2 separate regions of the Homo sapiens genome follow, and region 1 is linked to region 2. Evidence: promoter capture Hi-C in human tissues and cell types (Jung and others, 2019). All regions are on one chromosome and are shown on one strand. The core of a region is centred on a gene start or on the middle of the fragment in contact, and the rest is flanking DNA. Distances in the headings are between cores, read along the strand shown.

Region 1 (3,430 bases), core at 752-3,251, 350 kb after region 2:
AACAGCACAATAATCAAGATCAGAAAATTTTACGTTGTTAAAACAATATGGTCCTACTGAAAGCCCATGTACAAATGTTATCAAATATCTCAAAATGGCTAAATTCCATCTCCTGCTCCCAGTCCAGGATCCAGCCTAAGATCCCACATTGCACTTATGTGTCATATCTCTTCAGTTTAATCTGAAAATGACTCTCTTTTCTTACTTGATATTAACATTTTTAAAGAGTACAAAATAGTTATTTTGTGGAATGTCTCTTAATTTGGGTTATTCTGATTTGTTTTTGTGATGGATAGACCCGGGTTACGCATTTGTGTCAGATGTATCACAAAATTGATATAGACTTTTTAGTGAATATCAGGAGGCCCATGAGTTTGTTTTATACCTATATTGCTCATATTAACTTTGATTACTTAAGGTGGAGACTACTATTCTTCTCCACTGTAATGTGGCTATTTTTCACTTGCAACTAATCAGTAGTCTGGAGGAGTTTAATATGTAGATATTCAACTATCAGTCAAACGTTTACTGACTAGTTTTAGCATCCATTGATGATTCCCTAATTCAGTGATTCCTTCTTTGTCATTTGACATTTTTCTGTAAGAAATTGTCCTACTTGCTTGTTAATTTATATTAGAATGGAATAATGGATTCTTAATTTACACTATGGGTTATAATGTAATATTATAATTATGTATTTTGGATAATAGTCAAATTCATACAGATTTGGGAATTAGGAACCCCTTCAATTTGACTTTTTATGTATTACTGTAATTCTTCAAAAATATTATTACTTTCTGGCAAATATGTTATAGGCTTATTTTGCATTTTCCTTGCCCAAGATCTGGAATCAGTCTTCTCTAAGAAAGTCTAGCTCCTTTCAAATGAAAAATAGTATTTAGTAACCAAGCTTCTGAGTGCTAAATGTATTCATTGCTACTGGTAATTTATTGCTTCTAGGCAGAGTGAAAATATATATATACACAAGATATTAAGGTATATATACATATACACACTGTATTTATTTCTTTATTTGTATTTGTTTCTTTGTTTTACCTATATATTAAAAGCCATGAGTTAATACTGATGGTTCTCTTTCAAAATCAACAACACAATATACTCTTTGGACATTCCCTTTTCCATATTTGTAATTTATTTCCCCAACAGTGAAAAATATGGCTCCCACTATTCCCAAAATTTATATTCATTTGCTCAACTCTAGAATATAGACAGAATAGTTTCAAAATTGCCAACTTATAATATCAAGAAAAGCAAACCTAGTAACTAAAATTCAATATCTGCTTAAAGTTATTTTTTGGTAAATTTTAGATACATTAAGAATGAACCGATCTAAAATGTGAAATTTAATGAGTTTGATAGATGTTTGTACAACTCTGTCAAGATATAAATTTCCATCACTATGGAAATTCTCATGTGTCCCTAACACTCAATGTCTACTCACTCTGGGGCGACTATTTGTTTCACATTAGTTTTGACTTTTCTATATCTTTACATAAATGGAATCATCAAGTGTATATTCTCATGTCCAACTTCTTTTCCTCAGCTTGTCTATGAGATTCAACTATATTGTCGTATATGTAAGAATTGTATTCCTTTTTGCTGCTGAGCAATATTCTAAAATATAATTATATTACAATCAAATACATTTATTCATTTTTCTCTTGATGAATATTTCAGTTGTTTTTAGTTTTTGCTTCTGAGTATTGCTGTGTGTATTTTGTACAAGGCTTTGTGTGTTTTCATTTCTCTTGCACAAATACCTAGGATTAGAATTTCCGGGTAATGAATAAGGTATATGCTGAATTTTTTAAGCAGTTTTTCAAAATTCTTTTATTGTATACATTCCCATAGTACATTATGAGAGTTCTTGGTGTTTCCCATTCTGGTAAACACTTGGGTTGTTAGTGTTCTGTTTTTGTTTTTTTAAACGCAGCTCAACCATTATAGTGGGTGTGTCATGATATTTTCTCTGGTTTTAATTTAAATTTTCTTAATGACTAATGATGTTAAGCATGTTTCAATACGTTTATTTACTTTTATTTTTATTTCCTTGTGAAATGTCAAGTATTTGTTCATTTTATATTGAATTATTTATGTCAGTTATACTGAGTTGTAGAATTATTTAATGTACTATGGATACAAATTATTTGTTAGATAAATATTTGCTACATTTTCTCCCAGATGATAATTACTTATCCCTCTTAATTTTATTTCATTTTAGATTCAGGGGGTGCATGTACTTGTTTGTAACTTGAGAATTACATGTGTAATGGTGGGGGTTGTGTTTCTAGTGTACCCATCACCCAGTCCTATGCATGTTGCTGCCAAGGACATGATTTGATTCTTTTTATGGTTGCATAGTATTACATGGTGCATATATATATGTATATATACCACATTCTCTTTATTTAATCATGTGTTGATGGACACTTAGGTTGGTTCTAGGACTTTACTATTGTAAATAACACTATTAATAAACATAAGAGTGTAGATATCATTTTAATTTAATGATTTCCTTTCCTTTTGGTAGATATCCAGCAGTGGGATTGCAGGGTGGAATGGTAGTTCTATTTTTAGTTCTTTGAGAAATCTCCATATTGTTTCCTATAGATGCTGAATTAATTTACTTTCCAGCTAACAGTGTATGAGCATTCCTTTTTCTCTGTATCTACATCAATATCTGTGGGGTTTTTTACTTTTTAAATAAAAGCCATTCTGCTGGTGAAATGTGATATCTCAGTGTGGTTTTAATTTGCTTTTCTTTGGTGATTACTGATGTTGAGAGTTTTTTCATCTTTGTTGGTTGCTTGTATTTCTTTTTTTGAGAAATATCTGTTTATGGCCTTTCCCCAATTTCTAATGGAATTGTTTTTTTCTTGTTGTTTGAGTTCCTTACAGATTCTGGATATTAATCCTTTGCCAGAGGTATCATTTGCAAATGTTTTCTCCCATTTTGTAGGCTGTTTATTCTGTTGATTATGTATTTTGCTGTGCAGAAGCATTTTAGTTAAATTAACTTCTGATTGTGTATTTTTGTTTTTATTCCACTTGCTGGTGAAGTCTTCCTCATAAATTGTTTGACTACACCGATATCCAGAGGAGTTTTTCCTAGGTTCTCCTCTTGTAATTTTATAGTTTCTAGTCTTACATATGGATATTTAATCCATCAGTTAGTTTTTGTTTATGGTGAGAGATAGAGGTCCAGTTTCATTCTTTGGCATATGGCTAGCCAGTTTTCCTAGCACAATTTATTGAATAGAGTATCCTTTCTTCATTGTTTATTTAAGTCAAGTTTATTAAAGATGAGTTGGTTATAAGTATGTAGTTTTATTTCTGGGTGCTCTTTCCTCTTCTATTGCTCTATGTGTCTATTTTTGTCAGTAGCATGCTGCTTTAGTTACTATAGCTT
Region 2 (3,917 bases), core at 84-2,583:
TGACACCACTTTCAAATTTCAATTTTTTCTTCTGTTCTCTTTCTTCCTCTATATTCCACATATGACTTCCAAAGGTTTTGTAAAGATGAATTGTCCAGGATTAAGAGAGTGATTGATTAAGAGCCTACAGAACTGGGAAGAGGAGAGCTGCCAAGCTTTTCTTTATGTGTAGCACAGTGGAGCTACCCAGAGTGTGAGAAGCAAGAAACAGAGAGCCTTGCTAAGGCACGACGAAAAGGGGAAGCCTATTAAAAGAATGATCTGGAGGAGTGTGCAGTGAAGAAAATAAAGTAGAGCCAGCCTGCTGGGTCAGTAGCTAATAGCCCATGGGTTTACAACTAAGGAAGTTAAAATTCTAGCTAATGAGAATTGTAGACACCTACTGAGAGTGAACCGAAGGCTTCCTATTAACTTCCCTTCTTGGGTCTTTTTGACAGAACAGTCAGAAAGTTGTTTCCTATTTGTTTAGTAGCAAAAGAGTTGAAATGGAGGTTTAAAAAATGATGAAAGAGAAGTTGGAGGCAATCTCTTACTCAGCTCCTTCACGAGGTCCAAATACGATGTCTCCCCCACTCCACTCAAAATGTAAATCAGCATAGGTCACAAAAAGAGGAAGGACAGTTAAAAAAAAAAAAAAGAGTTGGGCCAAATAAGACATACAGCCAAGATGACTGAGACAATCAGAGAGGATTTGGGGTGTGGGGACTTCAAATTAATAAATCCGGTATTAGCTTTGTGGAATTAGCAGGATTAGGGTACCTCTTTCAAGAACACTGGTTGAATTTCATGGTTTCAATAGATGACCATTAGCTGTTATGTGCACCCCCCCCCCCCTTTTTTCTTGCAGAAGTTAAGAAGTCTGCTTAACTCGCAGGTCACCAAGAGATTGATTAAAGGCCTCTGGACATCATTTGGGTTTGGATAAATCTGTAGGGCCACTTTACAGACTGTCTCCAACTCCTGATCCCACTGTGGTTCTTTCTGAATTGATCCAGGTCCCTGCTAGCAAGTGAAGCAGAAAGAATCCAGGCTAGTTGTGAGATGACATACAGCAAGCAGGCTGAGATGATGGGGACATTTCAGAACCAAGAGGAGGGGGCGGGCAGGACACGGACTTGTCTCCCCCACCTTGATGCCAAGGTGGCATCTGGGAGATATCTCGAAGGGCAACGTCGAGGGGACTGCAAGCGTCAACCCTGGCGCGGCAGCACGGCGCCCCTCTCCGCGGGCGGGGAGCGAGCGCGTGTGCGCGAGAGCGCCGGGCGGCGGCGGGAGGAGGCGCAGGCGCGCTGCTCGCCCGTCTGCAGCCCCGAGCCGAGCGCCGCGTCTCGGGAGTTGATGGCAGCACCACTGTGCGGCCGCCCGGCCGAGCGCGGAGCGCAGCCACTCGCCGCTGCCCAGGGAGCGCCCAAGATGTGGGGGGACCGGGGCGGCAGCGGCCGTAGCAGCGCCAGGGACGGGGGCACGCAGCAGCCTCCGCTCGCCCGCCTGTCCTGACCTGCCTCGCTTGCCCCCAAAGAATGTCAGCCAAGTCCAAGGGGAACCCCTCCTCGTCCTGTCCAGCCGAGGGACCGCCGGCAGCCTCCAAAACCAAGGTGAAGGAACAGATCAAGATCATCGTGGAGGATTTGGAATTAGTCCTGGGCGACCTGAAGGACGTGGCCAAGGAACTTAAGGAGGTGAGAGGCGCAGGGGTGGGGAGGGAGTTCGGCACCCTTCGACCCCTCCGGGGTCCCCTTTCCGATTTTCAGCAGGGACAGCCAGATTTCCAAACTCCTGGGAAACTACAGAAAAGGCGCCTGCAGACGGACTTTCTTTGCTCCTGGAGTCCTGAGAGGAGTTGTTGTTGCACTTTTTAATTTTTTTTTTTAATCAGGAAGAAATCAACTAGTGTTTTAATCGATGGACCTGGGCTGGTGGGAGGGATGAACGCACGCGTGTCTCTGAATCTGTGTGTGTGACGACGGGGGAGAGGGTTAGCTGGGGGTGTGTCGGCAGAGGAAGTCGTGAGCAGCCCGGCTGGAGCGTGCAAGATGCTCCTCTCCTGCCCTATTGCTTCCCCAGAGTCCTTTGGCAAGTCCGCTGCCTATCTGTCAGCCTCCCCAAGTCAGGGCTGAAGAGGGGCCGGGTTCTGGGCCCTGGGCCAGATCAGGGAGGGCAGCCTGGAGGAAGCTTGGCTCAGACTACCCTCCCTGTCTCTCGAGCCTCGCTGTAGGGAAGGCGACCCGGGCTGCTGGCAGCCTTGGGGCTAAGGAGGGGGTCTGGGACTTTCTCACTTTCTCAGTTTCTGAAGCATCCCCTGCTCTCCTCCGAACGTCGTTACCAGTAACTCTGGGCCTTCCCGCCACCCTACCTCTGCTTCCTTCCTTCCACCCTGTCGCCACTTGGCATTGAACCCGAGAAGCAGGACGCGCAGGAGAGTGTATGTGTGGCCGGGGTCTTGCCATTGGCGTCCTGGCTCTCTGCAGCTGGGACTGCTTCGGTTCTTCCCCGCTTTTCCTATCCCACTTCGGTTCAGCCCTACTCCCGCCCGCCCCTAGCCCCAGGTGATCCAGATGGAAAGAAGCAGAGAAGGTGTCAGGGCTGAGGCTGCGTAACTCAGGCGGCGGCTCCGGGCGGGGGCGGGGGCCGGGCTGGGAGGGGTGGGGTCTCCCGAGCCAGGCTGGCTGCCGGCGGCGTCGCGGAGCTGGTAGCAGAGTCCCAGCGCGCCGCTCACTACTGAATGGGGTCCTGGTGCGGTTCTCGGTGAGGGAGTCCGCAGCTCCGCTGCGTGAGAGCTAAGACTAGAACTTCGAAGGTGGCGGTGGCTGCAGCGGGAAAAGGGGTGGGGCGTAGTCTAGGTCCAAAATTGTAATCCTGTTTCTGAAGCCAACGGGGAGGAGACTGAGGGTTGTTTGGATGACTGGCCTCTAGAGATTAACCTCCTGTATTCAATTTCCAAACCAAATTTCAAGAGCCCCCTCGTCTTCCTCCCCTTCCCCCGTTACCTCTATGAACTGAACTCTGCATTTGTTACCTAATGCAAGTCTGTTAAAATGGGCCATTCGTCACCAGGGTTAAGTTTGCCAGTGGTAAATGTCGTTCCTGTAGGTTACTCCACAGACAGAACATAATTAGTACTGAGGTCCTGAGAGTGGCTGTTAGTATACATAGATTCAGGGATAAAACTTGTTCGTGTTTTCAGGGTTTCTGTAGGATTATTGCTTCACAACTGGTTGACAGATGGTGGGGTTATGCATTGAAATTCAATTCTAAAAATGCTGTCCCTTTCTTTGTTATTCTTTTATATGACATCTTTGGTAGACTGTGTTTTCATCTGAAACATGGCGTTTTAAAAAATGAAATTGGGCATGTTCCTTTCGGCAGAATTGTGCTTAATAGTTGGTGAGGTTTCTATGGGCGATGTGGAAAACCTACAGCGGCACAGAAACGTATTTACTGTTTTCATGAGGCTGAGACTAAAAGAAAGGTAGTTAAACAGAATTCTGCATCTGTGAGCCATACTTCCTTATGTTTTAATGTCAGTCCACTCACTTTTTTTGCACAGAATAAATGACAAGAAACTGCACATGGTCCTGGTTTTGCTTTGCATCATTATTTATGGACATTTAGAGATTAAGTAGTGAAATCTTCAACCTCCCTGTGGTTATTGGTTAGAATCACAAAAATGTAAGTCAGGAAATCTGTTGATACCACTTTCTGTGTCTTCATTACTGAAGATTTTTTAAGGTTAAAAAAAAGGTTGTTTATAAGAGGAATAAAAAGCAGAGATAATGTACAACCCAGTAGATGAAACTATCTGACAGATCTAGAGATACAATTTTGACTCAACATTTTGGAAGATTTGTTTGTCTTAAGGATCTGTTTGAGTAAAAATCTCACCATGAAACTGAAATTTATGACATAAATAATGTGAT

Evidence for each region. The method cuts DNA at HindIII sites, captures the fragments that hold promoters and counts their contacts. A contact is called where the count stands out against the background at its distance.
Region 1: a fragment that was not itself captured here is called in contact with the fragment with the promoter of PRR16 in region 2 in 1 of the 25 tissues and cell types used here (IMR-90 fibroblasts).

The regions. Positions count from the first base shown.
Region 1 is chr5:120,809,418-120,812,847 of GRCh38, forward strand. No RefSeq gene overlaps it. Among named protein-coding and RNA genes, the nearest start is that of PRR16, 350 kb to the left of the region's middle. The HindIII fragment of the contact is 3,650 bases long and covers 177-3,430 here.
Region 2 is chr5:120,462,967-120,466,883 of GRCh38, forward strand. PRR16 (proline rich 16) reads left to right here and starts at 1,334. Exons shown (of 2, transcript NM_001300783.2): 1 at 1,334-1,679. The coding sequence starts at 1,521. RefSeq lists a silencer at 1,253-1,302 and an enhancer at 1,708-2,209. The HindIII fragment of the contact is 4,324 bases long and covers 1-3,178 here.